3 separate regions of the Homo sapiens genome follow, and regions 1 and 2 are each linked to region 3. Evidence: promoter capture Hi-C in 16 types of primary human blood cells and fetal thymus (Javierre and others, 2016). All regions are on one chromosome and are shown on one strand. The core of a region is centred on a gene start or on the middle of the fragment in contact, and the rest is flanking DNA. Distances in the headings are between cores, read along the strand shown.

What was found. The method cuts DNA at HindIII sites, captures the fragments that hold promoters and counts their contacts. A CHiCAGO score of 5 or more calls a contact.
Region 1: the fragment with the promoter of SLC11A2 here is called in contact with a fragment that was not itself captured in region 3 in 2 of 17 cell types (erythroblasts and megakaryocytes); the score reaches 9.1 in erythroblasts.
Region 2: a contact is called between the fragment with the promoter of LETMD1 here and a fragment that was not itself captured in region 3, in 1 of 17 cell types (erythroblasts). The highest score is 5.3, in erythroblasts.

The regions. Positions count from the first base shown.
Region 1 is chr12:51,024,904-51,028,268 of GRCh38, forward strand. SLC11A2 (solute carrier family 11 member 2) reads right to left here and starts at 1,481. Exons shown (of 16, transcript NM_000617.3): 1 at 1,407-1,481. RefSeq lists enhancers at 441-1,054, 1,055-1,666 and silencers at 1,072-1,131, 1,142-1,861. The HindIII fragment of the contact is 11,669 bases long and covers 1-3,365 here.
Region 2 is chr12:51,046,404-51,049,653 of GRCh38, forward strand. LETMD1 (LETM1 domain containing 1) reads left to right here and starts at 1,924. Exons shown (of 9, transcript NM_015416.5): 1 at 1,924-2,075; 2 at 2,631-2,782. The coding sequence starts at 1,954. RefSeq lists enhancers at 1,199-1,318, 1,369-1,448, 1,539-1,808, 1,630-2,168, 1,919-1,968 and 1 more. The HindIII fragment of the contact is 4,204 bases long and covers 1-2,638 here.
Region 3 is chr12:50,401,085-50,404,530 of GRCh38, forward strand. The region is part of intron 1 of LARP4 (La ribonucleoprotein 4); the gene reads left to right. Among named protein-coding and RNA genes, the nearest start is that of LARP4, 1.9 kb to the left of the region's middle. The HindIII fragment of the contact is 1,014 bases long and covers 1,153-2,166 here.

The DNA of each region.
Region 1 (3,365 bases), core at 231-2,730, 620 kb after region 3:
GTATGCTGCAATCATGGCCTTTTTAGTACTGGCTCCAAAATAAACTGAGTAGGCCAAGCAAGACTGTCAATGAAATACTGTCCAATGAAAAAATAAACAGCCGAAGGTTTCAGGTTTCATTTACCCAACACAGGTATCACAATAAATGACCTAGTATAATGATAGTTTCCAACCGTATTTAATAAAACAAACACGCAGCAGAAATCCTCTAGTCACATATAACTACACTATACCCTCAGATCAAAGTTAATGATGTCAATGGAAAGTATAGGCCGGCGGGTTCACTGGTGATAAGTCATGAGACTCTGAGCAAAGAATAAGTAATAAGGTTAGAATTCTTTAGAAGTGTTAAGGGGAAAGAAGGTAACAACAACAAAAACTCCTCCACATCAAGAGTTCTAAGTACTTTGTTGTTTATTAACTAATTTCATACCAACAACCCTGTAAGACTGATATTATCAATCCCCATTTTAAGTACGTGGAACAAAAGAAGAAAGAGGCAAACAACATGCTCAAAGATTTACAAAGCCAAGAAATCATGCGAACTGGTGGGGCTTCGGGTTCCAGAAGTCAGTGTAAACATAGCTTCTCCATTTTTCACCAACAGTCACTAAAATTGAGGCCAGCAAGTTTTTAGAAGCCTATCTCCCCTTGCAAACTCTCCTTCCATATAATTTTTGCTTTTGCAAGAGATGTCACATTTAAGCGGTAGCTTTAAAAGTGGGGACACATGAAACGCACAGCTGGGAGAGCCATCCAGCCCACTTACATATGTGCAATATCCCCCTGTAGAAAAACCCTGCTCATTGGAGCCTGGAATCCAGAGGGTCCCTGAGAGCTACACAAACAGCCTTAAAACCAATCTACCCACAATTACTGAGCCGCGTATGCAGGCTATTCACACAGAAGGCGCTCCCTGAAGTCGGTTAGGTTATAATGAGTCTTTTGTTGAAGCGGGGCGGCGGGAGGCCCCGGAGAGCAGCCCGGCCCCCTGCGGCGCCGACGAAGAGGCCACGAAAGACCTTGCCCTGTGCCCGTCGGCCTCTTTCGAGGCGTCGAAGCAGGTCAGCGCACCCCGACACAGGCCGGGCGCGCCATCCGGTGCAGCTGGGAGCTGGGCCATGTGTCCTAGGCCGCGGCGGGGAAGGGGCGAGACCCCCGCGACCTCCGGCGTTCCCTCCCTGCCCCCATCTTTGGGTCTTTCTCTGAATGGCGCGACTCCATCAGTCCTGGACTCTGGGCCTGAGGCCCTCCCTGGCCACACCTCCCCTCACAGCCCCGCACGGCGAGCCGGTGTCGCATCCTAGCCCCGGAGCCTGACCCCCGACACAGGCCCTCGAGCCGCCCCGCGCCCCTCCCTGCCAGCGAGCGGAATGCCGTGACCCCTGACCTTGCCTTCCCCTCACCTTACCAGCTCCGCAACCACCTGACACGCCGCCCCCGCGCCCAGGGCTCCATATTCCGGGAGCCAGCGCCACGCTGGCTAACGCCCTCCCCTCCCCGCGATTGGTCGACAGGACGGCAGCCGCACATCCCTATTGGCTGGAGTCCCTGCAGCGGCCGGGATGCGTGGCCCGCAGACCAGGGACCTAGGCTCCGCCCACGCGGAGTCTGGATGCGGCGGCCCCTGGGGCACGCGGCGGCCCCTGGGGCACCCGGCGGGAGCTGCATGCTGCCTAGTTGCTGCTTGCGTTGGCCAGACCCACACAGCCCCTGGACTGGGGAGCTCCAGTCCGCTAGCAGTCTGGGGACAGATAAGATTCCTGCCCTAGTTCGCCGTGGCGCCACGTTAGGTACTGACAATCAAGCTACGAGGTATAGCTCTATCCTGTAAAGGGTAGCCAGGCCAGGCGCGGAGGCTCACACTTGTAATGCCCAGCACTTTGGGAGACCGAGGCGGGAGGATCACTTGAGTCCAGGAGTTCGATACCAGCCTGGGCAACATAGTGAGACCCGGTCTCTACAAAAAATTTTAAAATTAGCCAAGCAAAGGCCGGGCGCGGTGGCTCACGCCTGTACTCCCAGCACTTTGGAGGGCCCAGGCGGGCGAATCACCTGAGATCGGGAGTTTGAGACCAGCCTGACCAACATGGAGAAACCCCGTCTTTACTAAAAATACAAAATTAGCCGGGCGTGGTGGCGCATGCCTGTAATCCCAGCTACTCGGGAGGCTGAGGCAAGAGAATCGCTTGAACCCGGGAGGCGGAGGTGCAGTGAGCCGAGATCGCGCCATTGCACTCCAGCCTTGGAAACAAGAGCGAAAACTCCGTCTAAAAAAAAAAAAAAATTAGCCAGGCATCACGGCGCCCGCCTGTGGTCCCAGCTACTCGGGGGCTGAGGTGGGAGAATCACTTGGGCCTGGGAGGTGGAGGCTGCGGTGAGACAAGATCGTGCCACTGCACTCCAGCCTGGGTGGCAGAGCAAAACCCTGTCTCAAAAAAAAAGGATAGCCACCTGGAAGGAACATTTCCTCGCGCCCCCAGAGCCACATCATAGTATCTGCTGCCCCACCAAGAGCACCCCACACCTGGGAGGAACCGAGAAACATCAGCTAGTGCAGCCAGTTTGACCGCCTTAGGTGTCCTCCCAAGCCTCCGTAGTGAATTGTTTTCCTCCTCGCCCAGCTGACTCGATTCTCCCCAGACTTCATCCTACCTACCCAAAAGCAATCCCACTCTATCGCCAGTTTCAGCCTCACACCGTATCTTTTGCTCTGAAGATGAGACTGCCAAACTGGTGAAGAGGGAATAAATGGCCTAACAAATTACCGTAATTTTCTGCAATGTCGTTTACAGCCACCAAAAACATTAGATCCTCCCGCCACCCTCACTCCCCGACCCCTCGCACTGCTTACAGCATTAAAGGTAATTGAGCTTCTTTATTCACGTAAAAACAGCTAGGAGAAAATTTCATTAGTAAGAGAGACCAAGAAATGAGGAAAGGAGCGTGAACTGCAAAGAGAAAAATCCAAATAAAGTGCGAAGTAAAAACAAACTCGGGGACCAAAAAAAAGTGGGGGGGGGGGGCTTGGCTTCCTGGAGCAGGTTGGTTTTCATACAGAATTTCTCCTGGAGAAAAAAGAAAATGCACAAATTAGTTCTGAGATTCTCGCTACAGTACATCTGTGGAGTTTCAGAAAGGTTTGATGAAGTTCCTCCAGATCGGAACCTTTCCTTTGGCAACTTCTATTATAACTAGAAAATAAAATTGCTAGAGCTGTACTTGTCACCCTTTCAGGTCTGCTCAGCTGGGCAGCTTCCCTGGGCTACTTACTTAGTTCACAGTGTGGAGCTGCCTCCGTCTTCAGCTGCTTCTTCCTCATGGTGCAGAACTAGTTTGACTTTCCCAATGCCAGCTCCTGCCTC
Region 2 (3,250 bases), core at 674-3,173, 650 kb after region 3:
TTTTTTTTGAGACAGTCTCACTCTGTTGCCCAGGCTGGAGTGCAGTGGTGCGATCTTGGCTCACCTCAACCTCCGCCTCCTGGGTTAAAGCGATTCTCCTGCCTCAGCCTCCCGAGTAGCTGGGATTACAGGCGCCCACCACCACATCCGGCTAATTTTTGTATTCTTAGTAGAGATGAGGTTTCACCATGTTGTCCAGGCTGGTCTCGAACTCCTGACCTCGGGTAATCAGCCCGCTTCGGCCTCCCAAAGTGCTGGGATTACAGGCATGAGCCACGGCGCCCAGCCGTCTTAGTCAACTTTCTATCCCGTCCACCCCATCTACCCAACACTTGTGAAGATCCAGGGCCATCTTTTAAAACTTTTCCTCTGACTGCACGAGTGGTACAGTCATTAATAACCTGTGCTAATATAAAGCTCTGTGACCCATAAAGCATTATACAGATGTGGGAGCTTTCACAGCTGTATTCTCTTTGGATCCTCAAAGATTTCTTATAAAGTAGGTACTATTATAAGGGAAATAAACTCAGAGCTAAAGTGACATATCCAAGGTAACATTCACTAAAACAAACGTCAATGCCAAGATTGAACCTATATCCAGGGAACCCACATGGGATGCTCTACCACCTTCCATGAAGAATAAATATTCATATATATCCAAGAGGACTGTTAATTCTTGGAGGCAGTTAAGTACCACTTCTGGGAATCCTTCTTAGTTTCAAGTATGAATCTATTCAAACATGTTTACTGAACACCTACTATGTGCTAAGTAAGGCACCTAGTGTTGGAGGTGCAGCAATGAACAAGGCAGAGAAGATGCTTACCCTCATTCTAGTTCAGGGAGCTGTCAAACAAGGACACAAATACATAAACACTGTAAGTGACAGATGCTACAAAGAAAATACAAGGCCGGGTGCAGTGGCTCACGCCTGTAATCCCAGCACTTTGGGAGGCCAAGGCTGGCGGATCACTTGAGGCCAGGAGTTGAAGACCAGCCTGACCAACATAGTGAGATCCCGTCTCTACTAAAAATACAAAAATTAGCCGGGCGTGGTGGCGGACGCCTGTAATCCCAGATACTCGGGAGGCTGAGGCAGGAGAATCGCTTGAACCCGGGAGGCGGAGGCTGCAGTGAGCCAAGATCGCGCCACTGCACTCCAGCCGGGGCGACAGAGCAAAACTGTCACAAAAACAAAACAACAAAACAAAACAAAACAGAGTAACATGAGAATAAGTGTGAAGTGTGTCCTTTTCGCCGGCACTGCTTCAGATAGGGTGGTCACAGAAATCCTCTCAGAATAGTAACATTTAAGTTGAGACAGAGCTTGGTCTTCGGTAGGTGCTTAACGAAAACCATTTTCCCACAAACTTAGTTCTGGAAACGACAAAGAGAGGAAAAAGTGTACTCAGTCCGCACAGGGGCCGCTCCCAGGCCTCCAACCTTCGCCGCCAGACTGACTGGAAAGTGGACAGTTCCCGGCCTATCCACGCCGGCACCATTAGAGGGCGCCGCGGGTCCTCCTAGCCCCAGGCACTGGCAAACTGACATCTGCTACCTAACAGTCGAGGCTCCGACGCCCCGAGTCCAGGCAGAGGGCAAGGGCGGCGCTGGGAAGCCCTGAGGCCCTAAGGAATCGCGGAGGGTCACTGGGCGCCTCAAGGACAGGGTGCCCTCCGCGTCGCAAACCCACACCAGTGGCATAAGAACTCGCTCCCTCTGGGACACCCTGTTTCCGGCGCCTTTAAACCTGGAAGTACTGCTGTGTCCAATCCTGGCCCTCCTTCCGCACTTAGTCTTTGAGTCCTTCCCTCTCCTGGCTTGTGCTGGAGCCAAGCAGGCTATGGCTACCAATCAGCGCTCAGAAAAGACGCATGCGTCTTCGAACGAACGCGACGTACGGTTAACTTTGACCCAAAGACAACCTCTTCTCTCCCGCTTCTCTCGCTGTGAAGATGGCGCTCTCCAGGGTGTGCTGGGCTCGGTCGGCTGTGTGGGGCTCGGCAGTCACCCCTGGACATTTTGTCACCCGGAGGCTGCAACTTGGTCGCTCTGGCCTGGCTTGGGGGGCCCCTCGGTGAGGGACCTGTAGCGAGAAAAGCATTTTTGACGTCCAGGCTCTTTCAGTGTCTCAACCTTGCTTGCATTCTGTCTCTTAATTCTCAGAGTTCCACGCCTTGGCCCTGGAATTTTTATTCTTCTGTTCAGGATTCAAACTCCGATCCCCACTAGTGACCCGGCTTCCTGACCCTCTGTACTCTCAGTGCCCCATATTGTCTGGTTTCCCCGCGTGTCCTGAGCTCATCTTTCAGCCTCACTTTTTCGGCTCAGGTTTTACCGCTGCTATCTCGATTCCACCTCTTTCTGACTTAGCCTGCAGTTCAAATTGTCCCACAGGCATTGCGCTCTCTCCAGAGGCATACCCTGAGTTACTTTCCTGCCTGGCCTTTGCCTGATTTGTGTTTCACAGTCTGATTGCCTATCTCTTCTTGACCCCAAGACCTTCCTTGGATTTCAGAAGTGTCAAGCCTTGGGATACAATCTCCGAGACTCCTGCTTTACATTAGGGACTCAAGGCGTGAGGGAGCTTCTAGGACTGATTCCCAGATAGTCTCTTTGATCTTCCTTGTAGGTCTTCAAAGCTTCACCTTTCTCCAAAGGCAGATGTGAAGAACTTGATGTCTTATGTGGTAACCAAGACAAAAGCGATTAATGGGAAATACCATCGTTTCTTGGGTCGTCATTTCCCCCGCTTCTATGTCCTGTACACAATCTTCATGAAAGGTAAAAACGAAACTACAATAGAAATTCCGGAATCAGCTCTTGGGCAGGGTCAAAGAGTTAGCATAAATAAGATCATTTGCAGGTTCTGCTATGGGGATGTGAGCCGAGATATCTTATATTTCATAAATGCCTGCGCCTTAAACTAATTCCTATAAATTAGCACTTCTTGAGAATGTTTCTAGAAAGATGTTATGAGAAACAACTTATGACAGCAACATGAGGGAGGGAGAATATAGGTATGTTCTCGTACTTTCTTAACCACACACCTGGCTATAGTAGAAATTTTTTGCCTTGCACACGGCAGGGATCTGTGGCTGTATAGACCTGCCCTGTGATGTATCAGTTGACTTACCCATAGGAAAATGAGGTCTAACCCTTGTTATGAATCTATATTAGGTAGTATGTTGTAGTGGCAATAGCCCTACATAATACTTGGTTTCTAAATGTTTTGTTTCAAATCAGAGATCC
Region 3 (3,446 bases), core at 410-2,909:
CCGGCCGGTCCCACCGCCATGTGACTTTCCGGGCCGTACACGCCGCGGAACCGGCAGATAGGCTGACACAGCACCTGGGCCGAGCAGGCCTGCAGCTTCCCTCTGCGCGCTCACAACACTCTAGGAAGCTATGGGAGGTGAGGCCCGTAGTGGAGAAGAATTGAAGGAGAAAAACGGAGGGCTGTTCTGGTGTGGCGGTGAGGTTCAGAGGAAGGGGAAAGTGTCCCATATGGACCTCCTAAAGGAGGCAGCATTGGGGGGTTGGGGGGCGGAGTCTGAGGGAGGAGAGGGTAATCAGGTGGGCGCGTTCCGGGGGCCGAGCGCGGCCTCGCGGGGCCCCTCTGGGAGGGAGGCGAGCAACATGTGGGGCCACGGATGGAGAAAGGTGAAATGCGGTAAGTATTTTGAAAAGAAAATTGAAAAGTTCTTTTGAGCAACTTCCACCAAATTCTGCCCGGGCCCCGTCCCTAGGTCTCTGGAACGTTCTGTGGGTGAAAGCGAGTTACTTTGAATCGAGGAGAAGCCAGTAGGGTTTGGAAGCCTTGAAAGGCACCGCTTTGACCTTTTGTAAAAGTTACTCAAGCAGCAGCTGCGTGATGAAGGGTTGGTTCTATGAACCGATTAAAAGCCCTTTACAAGGAAAATTCCAAGAATGAGGGAAACTTATTCCGGGAAAAGCCGTTTTTTGTAATGTTATTTGAACAATGAGACACTTTTATTACTTAAACTAGAACGTCTGCTGTTGGCCTATTTTAGTTTTCAAGATAGAGTTGGATACCTGCCTTACAGAAATACGAAATTTAATTTCCCTTAATTCTGTCCTCTTGTGTGCAGTGAGCGTCAGCTGACTGCCTGGCTAATGCTTTGAGTAGATTCCAGATCATATTGTTCTTACATTGTGAAAACGTCAAACCAGCAAAGCTGCAACTTCGCAACTTGGCATTTGTTAACTATGCCCATAAGAAGAATCTTTTCAATGAGGGAAGGAATTTACGGGTTGTATAATGAATCTAGGAGCCGGGGCCAGCCTATGGCAGATTTTTTTTTCCGGGTTGTGGGAAAATCTTACTCCGTAATATTCCAGCATAAAGTAAATAAATGATTTTACGGTTTTTTTTTCTCTTTAAACTAACTGATATTGTGTCGCCGATAAGCTTGATATCTTTAAATTAGTTTTTTAAAAGACTGCTACATTAGAGTGTATCTAACATTCATAATAAACATTCATTGGAACATTCCGGGGAAATCATGAAAAGACTTAAAATTACTGAACTCATTCTGTTTACTGTTTTCTGTCCTCATTGTTGTTTTCCTTAGGCAGAATAAGAAATCAGATAAGATTTTAAGCCAGTGCCAGCCAGTTTTTTTAAGGAATGTTATGCTATGTAAATACCACAGGTTTTAAGTGTGTGTTTTGCTGGGCAGAAGAAAGATTGTGAAGTTTATATTGACAGGAACTCCACAATATACTTTTGACTTCCAAATTGATTCCTTTGGCTTTATTAAAATGTAAGTTTTAATAACAGCTCCATTTATTGTTTAAACTAGGTCTTCTCCTGTCTCTAAAGCGATACTTAATATGTTTTACAGATGACAAAACCGAGCCCCAGAGGTTAAAGTAACTTTACTTAGTAAAAGTAAAGTAGTTTAACTGGGATTTAGATCCAGGTCATGCTGATGTCAAATCATGGACGGGATGTTAGCAATTCAGGCCTGTCCGACTCCCCAGGTTAGACAAATTCTATCGTATCTCTCGCCAAACTAGTGTTTAAAAGTTGTATCTCCATTAATCATTTTCTTTGTGAGTCACTATGTCATTCTTCATTTTCTCATATGAGTTTTATTGAAAATTAACTGTCTTTAAATATTTGGGGCTGAATATGTGGTATTAAAATCAGTGAAAAACAACATGTTGGTCGTTTGGCGTTTTGTTAACTAATATTTGATCCCTGTAACCTCATGATAGAGGAATTATTCTCAGTGAGAGAACCAAAGCTCAGAAGTTAGATGTCTAAGGTCATTCAAGTGTAAATAATGTGGGGGCTAAAGTCTGAAGTCTGACTTCTAGAACATAAATTTCTGGCTTCAAAATTATTTTTGTACTTTCCCATAAGTCAAAGGTTCTTAATCTAGGTTTTTGGATAGAATTGAGGAAGTAAGTACCTAAGCTTGGTTGAGGAAAAAAATTTGCGTGTTTATTTTCTCTAGCTTCTAACTGAAATCTAAATGGAAAAGAAGTGAAAATTCTTTAAATGTTAATGGCAGCAACAGTGTATGTGACCTTGTCACCAAGACAAATCACTTTTTTACATGTATTACAGCTTTTGCAGTTATCTTGAAATATTTATGCTCATTACTTGCTATATGTCAAAAATATTGTTAACGTATTGCTATATTAGACATTTTAAAATATTTTGATAACTGCGTTTCAATATAATTGGTTTACTTTGTGATCCTATATATTTTAGAAATGTAAAAAAACGGAGAAGAGATCCATAGATTAATTGGACTACTAAAGAGGTCTGTGTCACAGAAGAGGTTAAGAACTGCTTTACTAAACCAACTTGCTTGTGGATCATCTTTGGCAGGGTTAATCTGGGATCCCTGGGTCCTCTGCAGTTGTGTTCAATACCTTTTACTTATGTGTATTTTTCTGGAGAGATTCCAGCTTAACTATCCCACTAGAATCAGTAGGATAGATAATAGCAATATAACAATAACAACAGTAGTAGTATATACTTGTATCGTGCTTTGTGTCAGGAACGTTTGATGTTTTTGCATATATAGATATCTGTACATCTTAAGTCTCAATATCTCTATGAGGTGTTAGTATCCCCATTTTAGTGATAAGTAAGGCAGCTGGGCGCAGTGGCTCATGCCTGTAATCCCAGCACTTTGGGAGGCTGAGGTGGGTGGCAAATCACCTGAGGTCAGGAGTTTGAGATCAGCCTGGCCAACATGGTGAAACCCCATCTCTACTAAAAATACAAAAATTAGCCAGAGGTGGTGGCACACACCTGTAATCCTAGCTACTCGGGAGGCTAAGGTAGGAGAATCGCTTGAACCTGGGAGGCAGAGGTTGCAGTGAGCTGAGATGGCACCACTACACTCCAGCCTGGACAACAGAGTGAGACTCTGTCTCAAAAAAAAGAAACTAAGGCACATATAATTTAAACTTGCCTAAGTTTATACAGCTAGTGAACATGGAAGCTTGTATTAGAACTCATCAACCACCTACTTGTATTGGAGTAGAATATATTGCAGACAAGGAATCAATCCTATGTAAATAATACTTAGATGCAACTTTTTAAAACCTGGCCTTGGGCCCAATGTGGTGGCATGTACCTGTAGTCCCAGCTACTAGGGAGGCAGAGGCAGGAGTTTCGCTTGAGTATGGGAGGTCAAGGCTGGAATGAGCCGTGATTGTGCCACTGCATTCCAGGCCG